Regions from separate parts of the Homo sapiens genome. Here all the other regions are linked to region 1. The links are contacts of gene promoters, found by promoter capture Hi-C in blood cells and fetal thymus (Javierre and others, 2016). All regions are on one chromosome and are shown on one strand. The core of a region is centred on a gene start or on the middle of the fragment in contact, and the rest is flanking DNA. Distances in the headings are between cores, read along the strand shown. Region 1 holds the start of LINC02909 (long intergenic non-protein coding RNA 2909). Region 2 has its middle 120 kb from the start of LMNTD1. Region 3 has its middle 150 kb from the start of LMNTD1. Region 4 has its middle 130 kb from the start of KRAS. Region 5 has its middle 110 kb from the start of KRAS. Region 6 has its middle 39 kb from the start of KRAS. Region 7 has its middle 7.9 kb from the start of KRAS.

Region 1 (3,058 bases), core at 245-2,744:
GGCTCTGTAGAAATCTTTCTGAATCAAATTCTAACTCCAAACAGATTAACAATGTAATTATCTTTCCTGTTTTTTTCCTTTAAAATGTTTTCCTCCCTTTACTAAAGTTATTTATTGAGCATTGAACTTCCAAACCTTAGATCAGGCAGGCTGATTTTTAAAATCATTCAAAACTTGATTAGGAAAGCCAGTCAATCATTCATGATTCATCTATGTGAGATCCTATTGGTAATTAATGCAAAATCCTTAATATACGTAAAAAAAAAAATTTAAGTATGTGTGTAGATAGACAAGAGATTCCTTTTGCCAAAACAACCCTTCACTAATGATTAGATGCCACTAAACTCTTCATCAAAACCTAAGAAGAAACATCTGTTCACTGAGACATTCCCAGGAAACCCATCTTTAGTGAGCTCAGTGGGAGGGCAGAGCATGGTTTTCTGCTTAACCAGTGAATTTTATATCTGCCAAATTAAACTGTTTTCATTCTCTTTGTGACTACTATTTTATGTGATAAAATAATAACACTTCTTCCTGCCGTTTCTAGGATAGATGATAGCAGCTGTTAATCACATGATTTGCAAACCACAAGTACCAGATTTAGTAAATGCTCAGCAAGTCTGTCATCCGCAACCTTTCTGATTATTAATAAATGCAAGCTGGTATAGGCTAGAAACTTTCCTCCCACAATTCAGTTAACCTTGTTATATTAAGCTTCTTGGCTGGGTCACACCAAGCTTACTATAAACATCTCTTATTGGAACAATTCCTAAAATAGCAGAGTGACACATGCTTCTGAAAACTGTTCTTCTGTCTCACTTCTTGTTATATGAAGTCTGGTTTTCTTCTCAGAGAACAAGAGAAGACCTACAATAAATCTCTAGCTTCAAGAATTCAGGTGCCTCCAAGGTTCTTACAGTCTATAAAACTACATCACTGCGTTTCACTAACACACATTCCAAACGACCAAGCCTGAAAATGGCAGGATTAATTTAAATTTCCAAAAGCTCCATTGAAAACAATTTGAGATTTGCCTGTGGTGACAGCAACATATCTGGGGAATCTCACTTTATCACTCTCAGCTACCCATCTTTTTTCCCTATTTGTAGAGTGTTTTTCTTTTCAGATTTGTTTCAAGTTTTCAATGAACTCTGTTGAACCTCTAATATAGACTTATTGGAGGTTTGTCCCTTTTGCCACAAGCATTTTGAGGTTGAGACACAACAGAACAGCCTACATCTGATATTGCTTTTCCCTGGTTAGGGCGGTACTTTCTCGGCCTTCGATGACTAAAGGCCAGCATCAGCCAAAATTTAATTATTTCGTTGGGGAAAACTCACCACCTTATTTTCGCTTGACTTCGCCAGTGCTCCAAGAACCATCTGAGAACTGGGAAGAAAGAGTGGAGACCTACAGGTCAGATGACATGGGTGGAGCCCATTTCTACAGAGTGGCTTGGGCTGAGGTAAAAGAAGCTAGAGAAGAGAGCCGCTGATGCACTGCACCTGCCTAGGCTGGAGTTAAGGTACTAATCACAGCAGCAGTGCTGGGAAAGATGCCTAGGAAGGATGAGGATGACAGGCACTATTTTGGTGTGCTCCCCACCACAGCAATAACAGAAAGATAGTCCAGGTGCAGTGTCTTTCACCTGTAATCCCAGCACTTTGGGAGGCTGAGGTGGGAGGATCGCTTGAGCCCAGGAGTTCAAGACCAGCCTGGGCAACATGGTGAGACCCCCCCCCACCCCCGGTCCCCGCCCGGCTCTACAAAAAACAACACACTAAAGCTCATCCTGATTATACTTTCTAATCAGATGAAGGAAAATTATTTTTAAGTTAAATCTCATACTTTTTCTTTTGTTTTTTGGAAATGGAGTGTTGCTTTGTTGCCCAAGCTTGAGTGCAGTGGCACGATCTCAGCTCACTTCAATCTCTGCCTACTGGGCTCAAGCCACTCCCCCACCTCAGCCTGCCAAGTAACTGAAATGACAGGGGCATGCCACCACAGCCAGCTAATTTTTGTATCTTTTGTAGAGATGGGGTTTTGTTGTGTTGCCCAGGCTGGTCTCAAACTCCTGAGCTCAAGCGATCTACCTGCCTCAGTCTCCCAAGGTGCTGGGATTACAGGTGTGAGCCATTGCGCTCAGCCTGGTCATTATCATTTCTATCACCAGGTGAGAGCAAAGGGGAGTCAAATACTGGGGAATAAGAACTGGGGCTCTGAGTTTAAATAACCTGAGTTCAAACCCCAGTTCTGCTGCTTACTAGCTTTGTGATCTTGGACAAATTATTTAACCATATGTGCTTCAGTTTCTTCATCTGTAAAATTGCATCAATATCATGCAATGACCTCCGGGTGTGCTGCAGGGATTAAATGAGGTTAATACGCAGATGGCCCTCAGAACCATGTAGCACATTCTGAGCTCTCAGTAATGTTGTTATGATGCACTTTCTGAAACTCCTTTAACTTATCCAATACTAGAGGTCCTCTTAAAGCACCAAATAGCACCTAGAAAGAAATGACCAAGTAACCCGCTCCTCTCATTAGATTTGCTGTTTAATTTCCCATGAAATAACCTATTATAACATCCATGCTTGCGATCTGCTTATCAATCCACAGATACCGAAACTGGCAACACCCAGAGACATTTCCCTCCTAGTCATAAAGGAAGCCAGCAGCAGAGCCAGAAATAATATTCAAATTCTGGATCCACTAGACCATATTGCCCGTCTGACAAATTATACGCTTACATCCTGCTTCAGGTGAGTCTAGTATACCTGATGTTTCTCAGAGCAGTGAAAGGAATAACCTGAACAATAAATTCCAACGAACCTGTAATGAATTGCATTAACATGTTATTTCATTATTTATGTAATATTACCTCCTGACAGTTCTAATAAGGTACCCACAATGCCGGGTTCTCTACCCACTGGGAGCAAACAAGGGAACGTGCAGACGCTGGACAGCATACGATGGATGCCTGCAACTCCTGTACCTGCCCCCGAATGCCACCAGAAATATGCCATCTCTACTGAAACAGCTTTTCCAACCCTGAGCA
Region 2 (3,058 bases), core at 244-2,743, 440 kb before region 1:
TTTTTGGCAAAATGCTGTAGTATGCTTTCTCTTGATATCACTGCCAACAATGCCCTCTAGTGGTAAACCAAGTAGGCACTGACTAATGGGGGGAAAATGAAACAAGCAAGCCTGCTAAACACATTGGTAAGATTTTCATGAAAATACGAACTTTTAGTGCAGAAGGACCTGCGGCAGGCCTACTTCAGCTGCCTCCCGAGCCAGGTTTCCCTTGGTGGGTGACCGTGTCCCTTGATGAGTGACTGTGCGCTCACTCGGGCACCAAGGAGAAGCAGGACCATCGGGTAGCCTATGTGAATCCAACAGCAATGGCCAGATCAAGGGGTCCAATCCAGTCTTAAGGGCCAACAATCCAGGATTCTCTCCGTCAACCAAGGCCTATCTGGGAAGAAGTGCAAGAGCAACTAGAAAAGAAAAAGAAAAAGGCGCCAAGGCTTTGTATGAATTTGAAGAAAAAACTAGAAAAACACAGGAAGAAATTGTTAAGTGAAAGTAAGAGCTTATCCAAAAAAAGAGAAAAAAAAAGAAAAAGAATAAATCTGGTAGGTATTCATCGTCTTCATCATGCTCTGATTCTTCCAGCAGTTCTTCTGATTCTGAGGATGAGGATAAGAAACATGGAAAAGGGAGAAAGAAAAAGAACCATTCACATAAATCTTCTGAAAGCTCCATGTCAGAAACTGAATCAGACAGTAAGGATAGAAAGACAATAAGGAAGAAAGACTTCTTTTTAAAGAAAAAGAAGGACCCAACTGAGAAAGAAAAAGGCTATTAAACGACTCAGCAAAAAGAAACCCATATTCTGAAGATAAATCTTTATCACCTGAGTCCTTGTCAGAATCAGAGTATATTGAGGAGATAAGAGCAAAAAAGAAGAAAAGCAGTGAAGAATGAGAAAAAACAACACAAAAAAAGGAAAAAGGAGCATGAGAAAAACAGTAAGAAGAGAAAGAAGGCTGCTAGTTCAAGTCCTGACTCATCATAATATTAAGAAAAATCAGGATTCCCTTATAGAGAAAGTACAATGTCTAAGGAAATTTCAACTGTGAAAATTACAACATATTTACTATAATGCATGAATTTTCTTGTTTTTAGAATTATCCTTGGACTGGCCAGACGCAGTGGCTCACGCCTGTAATCCCAGCACTTTGGGAGGCCAAGGCGTGTGAATCACCTGAAGTCAAGAGTTTGAGACCAGCCTGACCAACAGGGTGAAACCCCGTCTCTACTAAAAATACAAAAATTAGCTGGGCCTGGTGGCTGGTGCCTGTAATCCCAGCTAGTTGGAAGGCTGAGGCAGGAGAATCACTTGAACCCGGGAGGCAGAGGTTGCAGTGAACTGAGATGGTGCCACTGCACTCCAGACTGGGCAAAAGAGCAAGACTCCATCTCAAAAAAAAAAAAAGAATTATCCCCAGACTACCCAGTAGCTATTCAAATGCCGCTGTGTGCAAGGGCCGTAAATGTTGCCTGCTGCTTATCTATTCTTTTCTCTTCCAGTGCTTGATAACTCTGGGAGATAATACATTGCAGTAGCACTAGTGGTTACAATATTTGGGAATAAAATTAATATTTTTGACTAGAAGTGTACAATGATAAATCAACAGAAATCCAACTTGAATACATCTTTAAGGTGGAATCAGAAACGGCCAGATGTTAAAAATTTTAAAGTAGTTAAAATTTTTGAAGTAAGGATTACATTGACATTTCAAAATCCGTACTCTGTAGATCAGTGTATTTTAATTTTTTCCCCGTGTAGACTTTTATTTACCTGGGAAAGGTGCTTTTTAGGATGCAGGGAGGAGGTGCTTTGCTGTCTCTTTAAGCTAGGAGAACAACATGCCTTTGATCCTCACACTTCCTGTATTTGAGGAAAGAGTAGCCAGGCTTTATGGAGAGGTCAGAGCTGGGTGCCAGGAGTCTTGCCTTTTACTGAGCTTAGGGACATCCTTGGATTTTGTCATACGCTTCTTTGAATGAACCAGAGAAACAGCCCTTTTGCAGCATGAGAAAGCCCCAAAACCCCTGGGATTTACCTCCACTTCAATAATACTGAATATTTTTTAGCATTAGAATATGCTGGGTCATTTGAATTAATTTTGATGACACTTTGGCTTTGGAGAGAAATGGTTTCAAATAGACACTGGTACACTGGTACTTTTTGAACTTGAAAACTAAATATTCTAAAGTGCATGTTTCATACCATAAAGTTTTAATTAGTCAGGAAAATTCCATGTAACCAGTGATAGTTCCTTTATTTTTTGTATGAAGTTTGTTTAGGCTGCAATGTTTAGCTTTTGTTAACTCCTTTCTCTTGCTGTCTTAAGTTCACTGCTGTGTTTAATGGCACACTTGCCAAGATATTGAGCATATAAAAAGCAGGGTTTTGATTTTTAAAAAAAATACAGCTTCATATTGAGGCTGAGACTTACCATAAACAAGTTGAGTAGCAAGCCTGGTATGCTGTGTCTTGTTACATAAAGCTATCGCCAGAATCTTAGTAAATATAATGTCTTAAAAGTTAAAAAAAAAAAAACAGAAAAAAGAAAATATGAACTTTTACACTTCCAGTTGGTAACTGAATGTTATATTTGGCAATAAAATGAACCTTTACAAGGTACTGCAGCATATACCTTAAAGCACAAGCATGTCAAAGCCAATTTTCCCCTGTGGTTTTCATGAACATATGCCAAACAGCACAGGAAAATAGCCATCTGTAAGGTCTCATTGGGGCATTTCTGGGTCACAACTTCCACTGGTATCTTAAAAGAAATTAAAATCTGCTTTTATGGAGGATGACATCATTCACCAAAAAAACTGCTTTTAAACCCGATTACCTTCGAGAATTATAGCCATCAGGCACCAACAATGACTCATTCCCACTTTCAAGGCTTTATCTGAATTCTGAACTCATCAACCAGGTAAAGTCTCTTTGCTTGAGAATTCTTCAAACTATAGCTCTCAACTGGTGGGGCAAGCTGGTCAAAACAAGTTACAGTTATAGGAATAAAATTTCTCTAATCCTGGCTCAGCAAAGAGCTTCCCAAAGGAACTGCAG
Region 3 (3,058 bases), core at 412-2,911, 410 kb before region 1:
TTGGGTTTATTTTGCTCTTTTTTTTTCCCCAGGCTCTTGAGGTGGGAACATAGGTTACTAATTTGAAACTTTTTCTCTTTTCTAATGTAAGCATTTCATGCTAAAATTTCTCCCCCAGCACTTCTTTAGCCGTGTCCTACAAATTTTGATAAATTGTATTTTCAAGAGTGGGGCAGCAGTGGGAGTTCCAGCTCTCCATGGTGGGGTGGTCTCATTACTACTGGGTAATGGTGAAAATCCTGACTCCAATAGGCCTGCTTTGACACCAACCCAGTGGGAAGGGGTATGTAGCCCCTTTGCTGCCTGGTGGAGGTTGATGTCCAGACTCTCCATGTGGTCTTCAGCGACACAGCAGGGGGCGTGCCTTGTTACCTACCACAGGAATAAATGTGACAGCCTCTTGAGGCAGGAAGGCTAGGCTCTGTCACGTGGCCTCCGCTGGCACAAGTGAGGGTGGGGACACAGTTTTTTCTGTGGTGTTTGGCTATAGTAGGGTAAATATTGTCTTAAAGATTTCTGTTTTGGTAGGTTGCCTCTTTCCTACTTCTTTGGCTAGAGAGAGCAGGCTTTTATTGGGATTGTTTGTTTGTTTGTTTGCTTTGTCGATGCCAGTTAATGTTTCTGGGTAGCCAGGTTTTGAAGCTCCAGGGCTGGGATATATAAGCCAAAAACAAAACCCCGGGAAACTCACCAGTATGTTGATCCTCAGGTTCCTAGGTCCCTGGCCAGTCTGCTTTCCTCTCTCCCAGCGTCAGTCTTCTCTTATGTTTGTTTTGTATATAATATTCAGGGTTTTCAGTTGTTCTTAGTGAGAAGAACAGGGAAAAGAATATCTACTCCATCTTCCTGGAAGTGGGAATTGTACTTTTACTTTTTACTTTGTATAATAAATTATTCTTTTTAAACGGTGGGAGTATGAATGGTAACTTTTAACATTTTTCTTTTGTGTTTTTTACTGCCAAATATGCTAAACAATGAATCTAAGTGGTAAAGCTATGTGGTCTTCCAGCTATAAAATGCATATTTACATGAAAAATCTCAGATAACAGGAGGCAAAGATTCTTGTTCAGATTATTTATTTCATGCAACTGAAAATGTTTCTTCTTATAGTCTCTCATAATCCACATTTAAAGTATTACATATAAGCTTTGCACAGTGGCAGTATCATAGCCAATGAGGTTTATCCGAGGCACAATTATTGCTAATTGAAAACATTTCCCAATATCCTGCCATGAAGACTTGTAATATAGTTGGCATTAGCAATTTTTGACAGTCTCTACGGAGACTGAATATAATATTGTGTATATATATATTACATATAGCCTTGTAATAATTAAAGACATAGTAAATACAGCTTCTTTAAACTTCTATTCTCTCTTCTCTCTTAATCATACTCAAATAAGAGTAAAGAGTTCAAAAAGTAAAATATTACAAGGAAAAAATGGTAGTGGAGACAGATGCATAGAAATTTTTTAATGAAAGAAAGCAATTGCATATATGGTAACTGACTTAAGAAACCTGAGGAAGAGGAAATCTAAACCAGGCAGTGAGGGAATGCCAACAAAAAGCAAACCCTAGGACCCTGGAAAAGTTCAGAACTTGGAAGTACATGGTAACTTTCATGGAGGTGAGGGTGTGACCAAGAATAGTAGAATTGGTTGAAAGTCTATAGGAAGCCACGTGACCTCCATGTCTCCTCCTGTACCCTAGACAGCCAAATGATTTCTTTGCCCTCTAAGCTGTATGATGAGAAACTTATTCTCTGGTGAAGTTGAACCAGAGAGACAGTCTCTGAATTTGAGCCTTCCACTTTCAGTTGATGCATGGTTGAGTGTTCACATATTGAATGGTGAAATTTCACAGCCATTTTCTTTTATTGGGCCCTCAAAACACTAGCAGCCTGGCATTTCACTCCCAGAGAATTCCTATTTTGGGAAACTGATCACCCCAAGGAAAATGACCTACAAGTACTGACAGGCATATGACTAAGAGTAGTCCCAGAAAGAGAAAACTAAATTTAAAAGATTATTTTTCAGAAATTGAAGACAATTTCCTACATCTAAAGAATATCTTTCCACATTAAGAGGACCTGTCAAATACCCATTTAATAGATGGGAAAATGCATAATTTCTGAAATTTCATATCACTAGGACAAAGAGAATACCCTAAAGCTTTCAGTACAGAAAACAATACAAGTCAAATATACAGCATCAGAAATTAGAATGTCACTGGTCTCTCAACAGCAGCTTTAAGGCTCAAACATAGTAAGCAGCGGCCAGGTGTGGTGGCTCACGCCTGTAATCCCAGCACTTTGGGAGGCTGAGGCAGGCAGATCACAAGGTCAGGAGATCAAGACCATCCTGGCTAACATGGTGAAACCCGTCTCTACTAAAAAATATACAAAAAAAATTAGCCGAGCGTGGTGGCGGGCACCTGTAGTCACAGCTACTTGAGAGGCTGAGGCAGGAGAATGATGTGAACCCAGGAGGCAGAGCTTGCAGTGAGCCAAGATTGCGCCACTGCACTCCAGCCTAGGCAACAGAGCCATACTCCATCTCAAAAAAAAAAAAAAAAATTGTAAGCAGCTTTCACAGTACTGAGGAAAAATTATTTCAAACCCAGCATTCTATACCTCGCCAAATTATCAAGTAAATGCAATGATAGAATAAGAAATTCTCAAACTTGTGAGGTCTCAAAAGATTTAATTATCATTTACTTTTTCCAAGAAGATACTACAGGAAGTGGTCCCGCCAATACCAGCAAGCCAATAAACTGTAAGGAAAAGCAAACAGAATACTCAGTATGAAAGTGAAGGAAGATCCCAGGATAAGAACTGTACAACAGGAAGACTGGGCGCAGTGGCTCATGCCTGTAATATCAACACTTTGGGGGGCTGAGGAGAGCAGATCACAAGGTCAGGAGTTTGAGACCAGCCTGGGCAACATGATGAAACCCCATCTCTACTAAAAATACAAAACTTACCGGATGTGGTGGCAGGCGCCTGTAATGCCAGCTACTTGGGAGGCTGAGGCAGGAGATTTGCTTGAACCCAGGAGGC
Region 4 (3,058 bases), core at 403-2,902, 380 kb before region 1:
TCACAATAAAAACAGTTTGTAAGATATAAAGTAGTGTATAAATATTGAGTATTATTAATATGCAATGTAACTGTAAAGTGGTCAGTTATGTACTGAAAGTCAACACACATTTATTGAGCATCATATGGTTAGGTGATAGGACACAAAAGATGAATGAAGATGAAAAGAAATGTATATTTATTGATCCTGCCGACTTGTGTTCCAAGTGCTTTACAGTCTTTATCTCTTTTAATGTTGCCCAGACTGCCTTCAAGAGGCTGATGCTCAGAAGGATGACACAGGTACCTATTAAAATTCATATAAAGCCAACTATGATAAATGCCAAAATTGTCAAGGCTTAACGAGTCCTTAATAAGTCCTGATTATTTTACCTCGGAAATTTCTCTGATTTGACCCTTCTCTCTTACCCTGTAGCCACTGCCCTAATCTTCTGTGTTTTTAAGCTTTCTTCGACCATGAGGCATGGTAAGAAATACATTTTACATTGTGACACAAGAAATGCATTTTGCAGTTCAAATTTTAATAAAGTCACTTTTATATGCGATGTGAACAATTCGCAAAATGCAACTAAGAGAGGGAATCTACTCAAGATTTAAATACAACAATTAACTCTCCATTTTTTTTTGTCATTTATTTTCCAGGTAATAAACCCTACATTGCACTTTATGGTTTCAACCCTGTCGTACTTTGTGTCCAACATGATGGTACCTATGTTGAATGAGGGAGCAATTAATCTGCGAGACTCTCAGAGGTGAGGGTGAAGGTGGAGAAGGTATAAAGAAATAATGCCATTGATACTTGGCTATGGAAGAATAAAGTAGGATTAACAGACCTATCCGGAGGGGAAGGGCATGTCAAGTGGAGGGAACAGCAGTGGTGAAAAGATGGAGATAGGAGAGTTAGCAAGTGGGGGGAAAGTTCATGGAAGTGAGGTGTAGTGGAGAGTGAGGGCACTGGGTAGAGATAAGGGTGAAATATTACAGTGGGGCTGGTTGTGGAGGACCCTAGATATCATGCTATGAAATATGGATTTTGGCCAGGCGTGATGGCTCACACATGTAATCCCAGCACTTTGGGAGGCCGAGGCGGGTGGATCACTTGAGGTCAAGAGTTGAAGACCAGCCTAGCCAACATGGCGAAACCCCATCTCTACTAAAAATACAAAAAATTAGTCGGGTATGGTGGCACATGCCTGTAGTCCCAGCTACTTAGGAGGCTGTGGCAGGAGAATCACTTGAACCTGGGACGTGGAGTTTGCAGTGAGCCGAGATTGCACTACTGAACTCCAGCCTGGGCAACAGAGTGAGACTCTGTCTCAAAAAAAAAAAAAAAAAAAAAGAAAAGAAAAGAAAAAAGAAAGAAAGAAAAGAAATATGGATTTTACTTTACAGGTAATAATGAGTCAGGCTCCAAGGACATTTTTTTTTTCTAAGAAAAAAGTGACAGGGTTAGAGCTGTCTTTTTTCAGAAAGGTAGCTGCACAGAAGCCAGACTGGAGACAAAGAGACAAGATGGGAAGTAACTGTAACTTAGACAAGTGATCACGAGAGCCTAGAACAGGGGTTTTTCAAACTGTGGTTCACAACCCGTTAGTGAATCCTGAAATGATTTTAGTGGGTCACAACCAAAAAATGTTGTTTCATCCATCTCCCATTTTATGTATTCATAATTACAGGTTATGCATAAACTTTCTGGGCAGTTTAAATTTTTAATAAACTCTCCTCTATGATAGATTTAACTATTTAAAATGAAGAAAGTGAGCTTACTTAAAATTTAGCATGTTTAACTACAGAAACGTTAACTTTCAACATAGACACTGTCATTTTGGATAAAAAGTATGACAAGATTGAAACCATGAAGTATAATGTTAAAATGAGGAAAACATGGATAGTTAATTGTTGGATTTAAATCTTGAGTAGATTCCCTCTTGGCTACATTTTACAAAATTGTGTTTTATATAAAAGTGACTTTATTAAAAATCTGAACTTCAGAATTATGAACCCCGAAAATTTGAGACAGGTCTCAAATAATTTAGAAAGTTTATTTTGGCAAGGTTGAAGACGCACCCATGACACAGCCTCAGGAGGTCCTGACAACATGTACCCAAGGTGGTCAGGGCACAGCTTGGTTTGATGCATTTTAGGAAGACATGAGACATCAATCAATGTATGTAAGAAGTACATTGGGTCAGTCTGGAAAGGCAGGACAACTTGAAGCAAAGGCAGGAGGACTGGAAGTGGGGAGAGAGCTTCCAGGTCACAGATAGGTGATACACAAACAGTTACATTCTTTTGAGGTTCTGATTAGCCTTCCCAAAGGAGGCAATTAGATATGCATCTATCTCAGTGAGCAAAGGGGTGACTTTGAATAGAATGAGAGGCAGGTTTGCCCTAAGTAGTTTCCAGCTTGAGTTCTCCATAGTGATTTTGGAGGCCTAAGATATTTTGCTTTCACAGAATCCTCCCCTCCCCTCCTACCCTACCCTACACTTCCCTTCCCTTCCCTTCTCTCTTTTTTGTCTCGCTCTGTTGCCCAGGCTGGGAGTGCAGTGGCGCCATCTCGGCTTACTACTACCTCTGCCTCCCGGGTTCAAGCAATTCTCGTGCCTCAGCCTCCCAAGTACCTGGGATTACAGGTGCCAGCCACCACGCCTGTCTAATTTTTGTATTTTTAGTAGAGACTGGGTTTTGCCATGTTGGCCAGGCTGGTCTTGGACTACTGACCTCAAGTGATCCGCCCGCCTCGCCTCCCAACGTGCTGGAATTAGAGGCGTGAGCCACCACATCCAGCCCAGAATGCATTTCTTGTGTCACAATGCAAAATGTATTTCTTACCGTGGGTCATGGTTGAAGAAAGCTTAAAAACACAGACTTAGAAGATTAGGGTAGTGGCTATGGAGTGAGAGAGAAAGGGTCAAGATATCAGAGAAATTTCTGAGGTAAAATAGTGAGGACTTATTGACAATTGGATGTGGGGGTAAAGGAGAAGGAAATTAAGGATGACTCACTGGTTTCTAATTTGGGCTGCCAGGGCACATGGGGATATGGCTCAGTTCATT
Region 5 (3,058 bases), core at 295-2,794, 360 kb before region 1:
GGATTTTCTTACATTTCTAAGTTTGCTCACAATTGAAAAAAAAAAAGTCTGGAAGGAAATGCACCAAACTATTAACAAAGGGAATTGTGAACATTTATTGGTATTTGTTTCACACCTTTCTCTCGGACAGCAGCCCTCTGTATCTGAAAAACTGTTCCTCTTTCTACTCTTGTCAATTGGTCCAAATGGGGATGGCCATCTTTCTTTCAATTCTATTCCTCTGGCTGCAGCAGTCAGCCAATTGTGCCACCCGAGAACTCCTGGTCATAGTGATTAGTCTAGAGATTAGCGTGTGACCCAAGCCAGACTAATCAGAGTGCTTTCTGAGGGTTCTGCCAATTTACTTCCTCTAAGGAGAGCAAGATTTCTTCCCTCTATAGTCACCAAGATGATTCTTGAGCTGCTGGTGGCCCTTCTCATTCCCAGTGGAAGAGAACCAGTCTGAGATAACAAAGCTAACATGCAGAGATAAGTGGAGATGAGACAGAGCCAGTCATGAGGCCCTGCTTCCCAGGGAACCAGGTCCCACTCTTACCTCTCTGAAGTCTTGGTTATGTAAGCAAATAATTTTCCCTATTTGTTCAAGATGGATCAGACTAGGCTCTTGTTACTAGTATCCTTAAACTCTGATTAGTACATTTTGAGAAGTGGTTGGGAAAATTTCACTTTCAACTTTAGACATTAATTGTACTAATCAGAAATTTTTGGCTACAAATGAAAGGAATGCTATTTGAGCTAGCAAAAGCAAGTGGGAATTTATTAGGTCATGTACCCAAATGTAGGAAGGGCATAGGTGAAGCTGTCCTGAGGCATCTCTAAAACCAAGGATCTAAATGCCATCAAGACTCACTGCTATTTTTCTTTCTAGCTTTCAGCTTTATTCCTCCTTAACTGTGGACTTGCTTTCTTCACCCAGTGGAGACATGGCCACTGCTGGCAGGTTCTAGGCTCACATCTTAACAGCATTTGAGAAGAAAATTCTTCCTCCCCATGTTGAGTCAGTAAAAATCTCAGGAAAGGATTGTGATTGACCTGGCTTGGGCCACAGGTCCATTTCTGCCCCCAATTACCGTGACCAAGAATGTAAGTACTCTCATTGCCCAGATTGATTCGCATGCCCTCTCCTTGATCTTTCCCTGTGGCTGGGGATGTGGGGTCATGTAAAAACAGGGCGGTTCCGACCTAGAAGCAAAATTGAAAGGGAAATAAATGGTTCTTCAGAAAAGGGAGCAAGAAACTGGCTCTGACATGGTCACCGAGAAAAATCTGTATGAAGTAGAGCATCTACCCTAATTTTTGTGTTCACCACATTTTATATTGTTCATATATTTTATAACAAATAGGTAGCATTTGATAAGATATTAAAACTGGGCCGGGCATAGTGGCTCACGCCTGTAATCCCAGCACTTTGGGAGGCCAAGGAGGGCAGATCACGAGGTCAGGAGATTGAGACCATCCTGGCTAACACGGTGAAAACCCCTCTCTACTAAACCCCTGGGCAAAAAGTTAGCTGGGCATGGTGGCGGGCACCTGTAGTCCCAGCTACTCGGGAGGCTGAGGCAGGAGAATGGTGTGAACATGGGAGGCGGAGCTTGCAGTGAGCCGAGATTGTGCCACTGCACTCCAGCCTGGCAACAGAGCGAGACTCTGTCTCAAAAAAAAAAAAAGATATTAAAACTGAGTAAATCTATATTATATATTACCAAATAAATCTTTGTTATATATTTAATATATGTTATATACTACATAATATAGATATAATTACATATATATCATGTATTGTATTATATAGTACTAAACGCTTTCCCCCTGAAGTTATGTCAAGTTTATAAGAAACCTCAGAAATCATGTGGTTTGCAGCCTGGCTAACATGGTGAAATCCTGTCTCTACTAAAAACACAAAAATAAGCTGGGCGTGGTGGTGGGCGCCTGTAATCCCAGCTACCCAGGAGGCTGAGACAGGAGAATTGCTTGAACTCAGGAGGCAAATGTTGCAGCGAGTGGAGATCACGCCACTGCACTTGGGCCTGGGCAACAGAGCGAGACTCCATCTCAAAAAGAAAAAAAGAGAAAGAAATCATGTGGTTTGGCAACTACTAATGCAAAATACCCTCTCATGTCCTGGATCAGGAACGTGAATACCTTCCTATCTTCAGTGATGATGTGAAGAATGATGAACATAGATTTCTCTGGGAAACAAAGAGTTGAGAAATAACAGCAGAGCTGACTAAACCAAGAGCTGTTAATTGATCTGTAATCTTCATATCACCTTGGAAAAATTGCTCTCTCTCTGATTTCCTTTTCTTATTAAAAAATTAGAGTAGGCCAGGTGCGATGGCTCACATCTATAATCCTAGCACTTTGGGAGGCTGAGGCAGGAGGATCTCTTAGTTCAGGAGTTCAAGACCAACCTGGGCAACATAGTAAGATCTCATCTCTACATTTTTTTTTTTTTAATTAGCCAAACATGGTGGCACACACATAGTTTCAGGTACTCGGGTGGCTGAACTGGGAGGATTGCTTGAGCCCAGCAGGTCGAGGCTACAGTGAGCAGTGATCACACTACTGCACTCTAACCTGGGTGACAGAGTAAGACCTGGTCTAAAAAATAAAAAGAGAGAATAATAATAGTAATACTACTGATATTTTAAATATACCACTGGAAGTGGGGTTGGTGGGGGAGTAAGGCTGCAATATCTTACAAACACAATCTATAAGTGGCAGCTTTAATCATTTTCTTTGTATTGTTATTGAGATGAAATCCGACTGGGCACAGTGGCTAACACCTGTGTTAGGTGGGCAGATCACTTGAGGCCAGGAGTTCCAGAACAACCTAAGCAACATGGTGAAACCCCGTCTCTACAAAAAATTAGTTGGTGTGGTGGCGCACACCTGTAGTCCCAGCTCCTCAGGAGGTTGAGGTGAGAGAATTACCTGGGCCGGAGAGGTCGAGGCTGCAGTGAGCCAAGATTGTGCCACTGCACTCCAGCCCGGGTGACAGACTGAGACGCTGTCTCAGAAAAATAATAATAATTTTAAAATAAAATATAATTCATTC
Region 6 (3,058 bases), core at 388-2,887, 290 kb before region 1:
AAACAACTAATTTTTGTGTTAATGATTTTGTAGACAAAATACAACGTGTATCCTGTAATTTACTGAAGGGTTATTTGATAACATGCATGGGTGTCTAATGCTTTGTGATTTAGTTCTAAGAGGGGAGTATATGTTAGCTTAATATTTAGATTTATAACCATTAGTTGTATCGTCTAGTACTTGGGTAGTCTGGCTGTTGTTTACTCATTAATTTATTTATTCAAATTATATTTGTTTTCTAGATATATTTCATGTCAGGCACTAGGCAAAACTCTGGGAATATAAAATTTAATAAAAATGGACTAGATTCTCTTGAACAGATAGATGTTTTACTCAGTAGATTTGGAAAAGTAAATCTCCTGAGGGATACCCATACTTTAAAAATCACCCAAATCAGAAAAGATGCTACAAGAAGAAAGAAAGAAAAATAAAAAAATAAAATAAATGGAAAGCCAAATTTTTTTTAAAGGGAGAAATGGTCTGGAACATAATTAATACTGTGTTTTAAGAATTATTTTCTTAAAAGCTTCTTGCGGAAGTCAGTTTGCAGTTTGGAGGGAACTGTTGGGAAATAGAAGGCTTGCTCAGTCCTTTTGCTTTATCTCCATAGATGGTAAACACTTAATGTGGCCAAACCTATGATATCATCTACCATTACACCTTTGCAAATAGTTATCTCATTATCAAATGGGAATAGAAAAATGAGAGGAGGGAAACCCACAGAATCTAGCAAATACATGTCTTTACAGCTAACAAAGCATAAATTTCAAAGAATTCTATTTGTGTTTCATAAAATGTAGGTATTTTGACTGTCAAAACCTTGGAGGCAAGGGTTATCATTTATAATTAGGTACTTTCTGCAACCCCCTAGTGTTTTTACAGTCTTTTGTATTCAACATTTGCTTAAATATTTTATACTGAGAAACATAAAGTGAATTCATTGCTCATTGCCTATTTGTAAAACTTACATGTGAAGTCTGCTCCTTGTTTATTTGGGGATACATTCAAAGTAAGGCCCTAAGGCCTAGAAACAAAGATGCAATTTGGAAGCTACCCTCCATTGGAAATGCATTCAAACAGTAATTTCTATTTACATGCAAAAAAATCTCAAAGTTGCCTGACATTAAAGCAGGAAAAATTATGTAAACTCACAGGAAATATAAGTGCATCCTTTGTATCTTATTCAGTTCAATCCAATTTGATAAAATAAATACATTGTAAAAGCCCAGATGAAGGTTAATGAGGGTATGACTGAAGATGGTAACAATGAGAGTAGAAAGAGTTGAGCAATATTGCTGCACAGGATAAAATATAAATTCCTAAGCATGACATGAAACGCCCTTCACAATCAGAGTTCTGATTGCCTTTCCCACTTCATCTTTTGCCAAACTACCTCATGTTCCAGCCACTGAACACCACCTGAGATTCCCCACATCCTTCACGTCTCCATGCTATTTTCCCCAACATTTTATTTTGAATATTTTCAAACAATGTTTTAAATAATGTTACAGTGAGCATCCAAGTGTCCACTACCTAGATTTTTTTATTTTACTGTATTTACTTTATCATATATCTACCCTTCTATCTATTCTTCTATCAAAGTAAATTGCAGTCACCAATGGTCTTTCCCCTAAACACTTCAGCATGCATATATTTAACTAGAGATCAATATCTATTTATGGCCTTTTATCTTCTTTTTTGTAGTAAAAATTTACATACAGTAAAATGCATAAATCCTAAGTGTACCATTCACTGAATTTTGACAAATATACACAGCTGTGTGATTAAAACTCGTGTTGAGATACAGAACTTTACCATACTTCCACGATTTTCTTCATAGCCTTTCCCAGTCAAACCCAGTCTGTCTTCCAGAGGTAACCACTGTTCAAATTTTTTTCCCAGAGATGAGATTAGTCTCACGTAAAAGGAATCACACAGCATGCACTCTTCTCTCACCTAGCATAGTGTTTTTGAGTACAGTTGAGTGTATCAGTTCATTCCTTTCTAATTGCTGAGTTGTATTCCTTTGTATGAATATATCACAGTTTGATTATCCATTCTCCTGTTGACGGATACTTAAGCTGTTCCCAGTGTTTGGCTATCACAAATAAAGCTATTGTGAACATTCTTGTACACATCTTTATTTGGACATATGTTTTCATTCTCTTGGGGTAAATACTAGTGAAATTGCTGGGTCATATGATAGGTTTATGTTTAACTTTCTAAGTAATAACCAAACCTCTTCTCAAAGTGGTTGTACTATTTTACACTTCTCTACCAATGTATGAGAGTTCCAGTTGCTCCACATACCCTTCAACATTCGATGTTGTTAGTCTTTTTAATTTTAGCCATTCTGATAGGTATGTGGGGGCCTCTCGTTTTTTAATTTGCATTTCCCTGGAAACTGACAATGTTGAGCTTTTTCTCATATACATTTATTATGTATTTGTATACTTCCTTTCATGATGTGTCTGTTCGAATATTTGCCTTTTTATTATTGAGTTGTAGGATTTCTTTATAATCCTGGTTACCAGTCCTTTGTCAAAGAATTTTAAAAACATTTTCCCCAGTCTGTGACTTGCCTACTTATTTTCCTAATGATGATTTTTTTTAATAATTGAAGGTTTTTAACTTCATAAAGTCTAGTTTATCCAATTTTTATTTTTGGGTTATTGCTTTCCATATCATGTCTAAGAAAGCTGTTTCTAAGGCACAAAGATATTCTCCTGTTTTCCTTTGAAAGCTTTATGGTTTTTGCTTTCATGTTTAGAACTATAACCCAACTTAATTTAGTTTTTGTGTACAGTGTGAGGTAGAGGTTGAGATTCATTTTTGCTATATTGATAGTTATTTCAAAAGTTGGTTGAGAAAAATGTATTCCCATAGTATTGCTTTGGTCATTTTTTAAAATGATTCTCTATACGTAGATCTATTTCTGGGCTTTCAATTTCATCCCATTGATCTATTTGTTCATATTTATGCCAGGACCATAATTTATTGATTATTGTAGCTTTATAGTAAGTCTCGAAATCATGCAGTATAAATGCTTCAATTTATT
Region 7 (3,058 bases), core at 190-2,689, 260 kb before region 1:
TGGCATTTTTTTCTGAAAAATATTAAGGAAGGAAGGATGGAAGGAGACAGGAGGGTGGCAAGGAGGGAAGAAGGGAGAGAACAAGACAGGAAAGAAAAAGGCGTAAAAAACAAAATGAAAGATAAAATATTGTCAAGACATTGAGAGCAGTAACTTTCATTATAACAACATAGTCCATTCTCCTGACAAACATGGTAAATTAAAACAGTCTAGGCCGGGTGCGGTGGCTCACGCCTGTAATCACAGCACTTTGGGAGGCTGAAGCGGGTGGATCACCTGAGGTCAGGAGTTCGAGACCAGCCTGGCCAACCTGGTGAAACCCCATCTCTACTACAAATGCAAAAATTAGCTGGGCGTGGTGGCGGGTGCCTGTAATCCTAGCTATGTGGGAGGCTGAGGGAGGAGAATCACTTGGACCTGGGAGGTGGAGGTTGCAGTAAGCTGACATTGCGCCATTTCACTCTAGCTTGGGCGACAAGAGGGAAACTCTGTCTCAAAAAAAAAAAAAAGTCTGGAGACAATATAGTGTGTTTATAGTCACAATAAATACACAATAATTCTTTGGTTTTGCTCACAGCTTTCCTTCAAGCTAGGACAAGCCCTGTTACCCTGTCAAACTGTTTACAAAGTGCACAAAATTTGTATTTGGAAACATTTTATTGGCATCTTGGGAAGTTCAATTAATTAAAATTTGTAAAGTACTTCAAGATGCTGAAGAACACAAGACTGACCTAAAAACAAGAAATTTCAGTTATTGCAAAAAAGTGCATCATTTCGGGCATCTGTTTTACTTTGTATATTATCTTAACAATAATTTATCCTGGTTACCATTATCAATAGATACTGTCTAAGAGGGAATCAGATAACCTGTTCTGAGGAGTAAAACAATAGTTTTGGAAAAGCTAATTATTGCATTGGTCTTTATTCAATTTGGCCCTGTTTCATTAGCAAAAAAAAAAAAAATTGATAAAAAATTCTTTAGAACAGCAGTTCTCAGTGTTCTACAGGCACCCTTGTTCAGAGGTGGGGGGTTCCAAGACCTTTTCAGGAGGTCTGGAAGGTCAAATCTCTAATCATAATAATACTGAGATGTGAGATGTTATTTTCCTTTTTCATTTTCATTTCTCTCATGAGTGTACAGTGGAGTTTTCCAGAGGTTATATGTGATATAACAGAGAGAATACAGGAGCAGATTTGAGAATCTAGCCTCTTCTATTAAACAAGGCATTAAGGATTTGCAAATATGTTAAAACGATGCCACTCTTCTCATTACATATTTTTAAAAATATAATTATTTTCATAATGTTATTTATGTTAATATGTGATGGGTTTATTATTATTTTAAACAAATAACTTCTAAATATGTGAAATGATCCTGACATCAAAAAGTCTGAGGAGCACTGCCTTAGAATGTGACTTCCAAGATAGCAGAGATATGTGTCTGTTTGGTATACCAATGCATCCCAAATATCAAAGATGATACCGGGCATATAGTAAGGGCTCAGTAAAGAAATACCTATTGACTGACTGAATGAATAAAATGTTATTAACATATTAGATTAGCTAATATTGAATATTGGCTTCTTTTTTTTTTTTTTAGAGTCTTGCCCTGTCGCCCAGGCTGGAGTGTAGTGGCACAATCTTGGCTCATAGCAACCTTCACCTCCTGGATTCAAGCAATTCTCCTGCCTCAGCCTCCCTAGTAGCTGGGATTACAAGCGTCCACCACCACGCCCAGCTAATTTTTGTATTTTTAGTAGAGACGGGGTTTCACCATGTAGCCAGGCTGGTCTTGAACTTCTTACCTCAAGGATCCGCCGGCCTCGGCCTTTCAAAGTGCTGGGATTACAGGTGTGAGCTACCGTGCCTAGCCTGCTAATATTGGCTTCTTAAGGGCCTGTAACAAATGGTAATGTTTGAGTTTGTTGAGGTTTTCATACATTAAGATAGAATTAATTTATGCAGGCATTACAACTATTTATGAAAATAATTCAGATTAAAGTGAAATAATCATTTATACTTCCATTTACCACCTCTCTACATTTATAGACTTCTAATATAAAAAATTATTGACAAGGCAGAACAATCTTCCAAAAAGAATTTACCTCAAAGGTGACTTGCCTTATTCAACTGAGGACATGTGGATCCTAAATGAGATGTCTGGGCCCAAAGGGTTAATGCCCCTAGACTCCATAATGTTAAACTGATGTGCACAAATAAAGCTCTATTTGAATACATATCACCATGAATGAACTAGAAGCACCTGACAACATATCCAACAACTGTGATTAGAGAGAAGAGACAGAAAGTAGGAAAATCAGGCTTGTAATCAGCAGGGAGTCCAATTAGCACATGCTTGGGGAATTAGAAGGAAATGATTTTTAAAAATACTTCTGATTTCTGATATCCTTAAAAACAAAACCAAGCACTAAAGCACTTTTTTTTTTTTTTCAAACTAGGTCTCATTCATCGCCCAGGCTGGAATGCAGTAGCGTGATCTCAGCTCACTTTAGCCTTGACCTCCTGGGCTCAAGCAATCCCCCCTCCCCCAAAGCTGGGACTACAGGCGCATGCTACCATGCCTGGTTAATTTTTGTATTTTTTGTAGAGATGGCGTTTTGCCATGTTACCACATTGCCAGGTTGGTCTCAAACTCCTGGACTCCAGCGATTCTCTTGCCTTGGCCTCCCAAAGTGCTGGGATTATAGGCATGAGCCACCATGCCTGGCCTAAATGAAGTACTATTGTATTATGTAGATAGAAGCAAAGCCAAGAGATCTAAATTGACTTGCAGAGACCTCACTTAGAGTGGATTATTCGTCCTATTATTTTCTTTATGGCAACTTATCAACAAATCTTTATTAAGTGACTACTATGTGCCAGGCTCTTTCTGGACGTTGAGGATTCAGTGGTCCCTGGCTCATGAAATTTATATTTCAGGGGAGGAAACAGGCAAGCAGTCAATAAATGATCAAGATAACTTCAGATATGATAAGCGCTAAATAAAAGAATAACACAGGCCACTATGTGAAAGAGAGATTCACTGAAGGATTGAAGT

Evidence for each region. Contacts are between HindIII fragments. The CHiCAGO score rates a contact against its expected background, and 5 or more counts as called.
Region 2: a fragment that was not itself captured here is called in contact with the fragment with the promoter of LINC02909 in region 1 in 1 of 17 cell types (neutrophils); the score reaches 7.5 in neutrophils.
Region 3: a fragment that was not itself captured here is called in contact with the fragment with the promoter of LINC02909 in region 1 in 1 of 17 cell types (neutrophils); the score reaches 6.4 in neutrophils.
Region 4: a contact is called between a fragment that was not itself captured here and the fragment with the promoter of LINC02909 in region 1, in 1 of 17 cell types (neutrophils). The highest score is 9.2, in neutrophils.
Region 5: a fragment that was not itself captured here is called in contact with the fragment with the promoter of LINC02909 in region 1 in 1 of 17 cell types (neutrophils); the score reaches 8.1 in neutrophils.
Region 6: a contact is called between a fragment that was not itself captured here and the fragment with the promoter of LINC02909 in region 1, in 1 of 17 cell types (neutrophils). The highest score is 5.3, in neutrophils.
Region 7: a fragment that was not itself captured here is called in contact with the fragment with the promoter of LINC02909 in region 1 in 1 of 17 cell types (neutrophils); the score reaches 6.0 in neutrophils.

Annotation. Positions count from the first base shown.
Region 1 is chr12:24,995,901-24,998,958 of GRCh38, reverse strand. LINC02909 (long intergenic non-protein coding RNA 2909) reads left to right here and starts at 1,494. Exons shown (of 4, transcript NR_171024.1): 1 at 1,494-1,727; 2 at 2,620-2,762; 3 at 2,892-3,058. It also overlaps a transcript of IRAG2 not described here. RefSeq lists enhancers at 446-555, 806-935. The HindIII fragment of the contact is 1,157 bases long and covers 740-1,896 here.
Region 2 is chr12:25,433,509-25,436,566 of GRCh38, reverse strand. It overlaps the pseudogene FAM133GP. Among named protein-coding and RNA genes, the nearest start is that of LMNTD1, 120 kb to the left of the region's middle. The HindIII fragment of the contact is 4,168 bases long and covers 1-3,058 here.
Region 3 is chr12:25,402,515-25,405,572 of GRCh38, reverse strand. It overlaps the pseudogene RNU4-67P. Among named protein-coding and RNA genes, the nearest start is that of LMNTD1, 150 kb to the left of the region's middle. The HindIII fragment of the contact is 1,025 bases long and covers 1,149-2,173 here.
Region 4 is chr12:25,377,952-25,381,009 of GRCh38, reverse strand. No RefSeq gene overlaps it. Among named protein-coding and RNA genes, the nearest start is that of KRAS, 130 kb to the right of the region's middle. The HindIII fragment of the contact is 2,413 bases long and covers 446-2,858 here.
Region 5 is chr12:25,359,023-25,362,080 of GRCh38, reverse strand. No RefSeq gene overlaps it. Among named protein-coding and RNA genes, the nearest start is that of KRAS, 110 kb to the right of the region's middle. The HindIII fragment of the contact is 6,678 bases long and covers 1-3,058 here.
Region 6 is chr12:25,288,762-25,291,819 of GRCh38, reverse strand. No RefSeq gene overlaps it. Among named protein-coding and RNA genes, the nearest start is that of KRAS, 39 kb to the right of the region's middle. The HindIII fragment of the contact is 2,217 bases long and covers 529-2,745 here.
Region 7 is chr12:25,257,292-25,260,349 of GRCh38, reverse strand. No RefSeq gene overlaps it. Among named protein-coding and RNA genes, the nearest start is that of KRAS, 7.9 kb to the right of the region's middle. The HindIII fragment of the contact is 7,684 bases long and covers 1-3,058 here.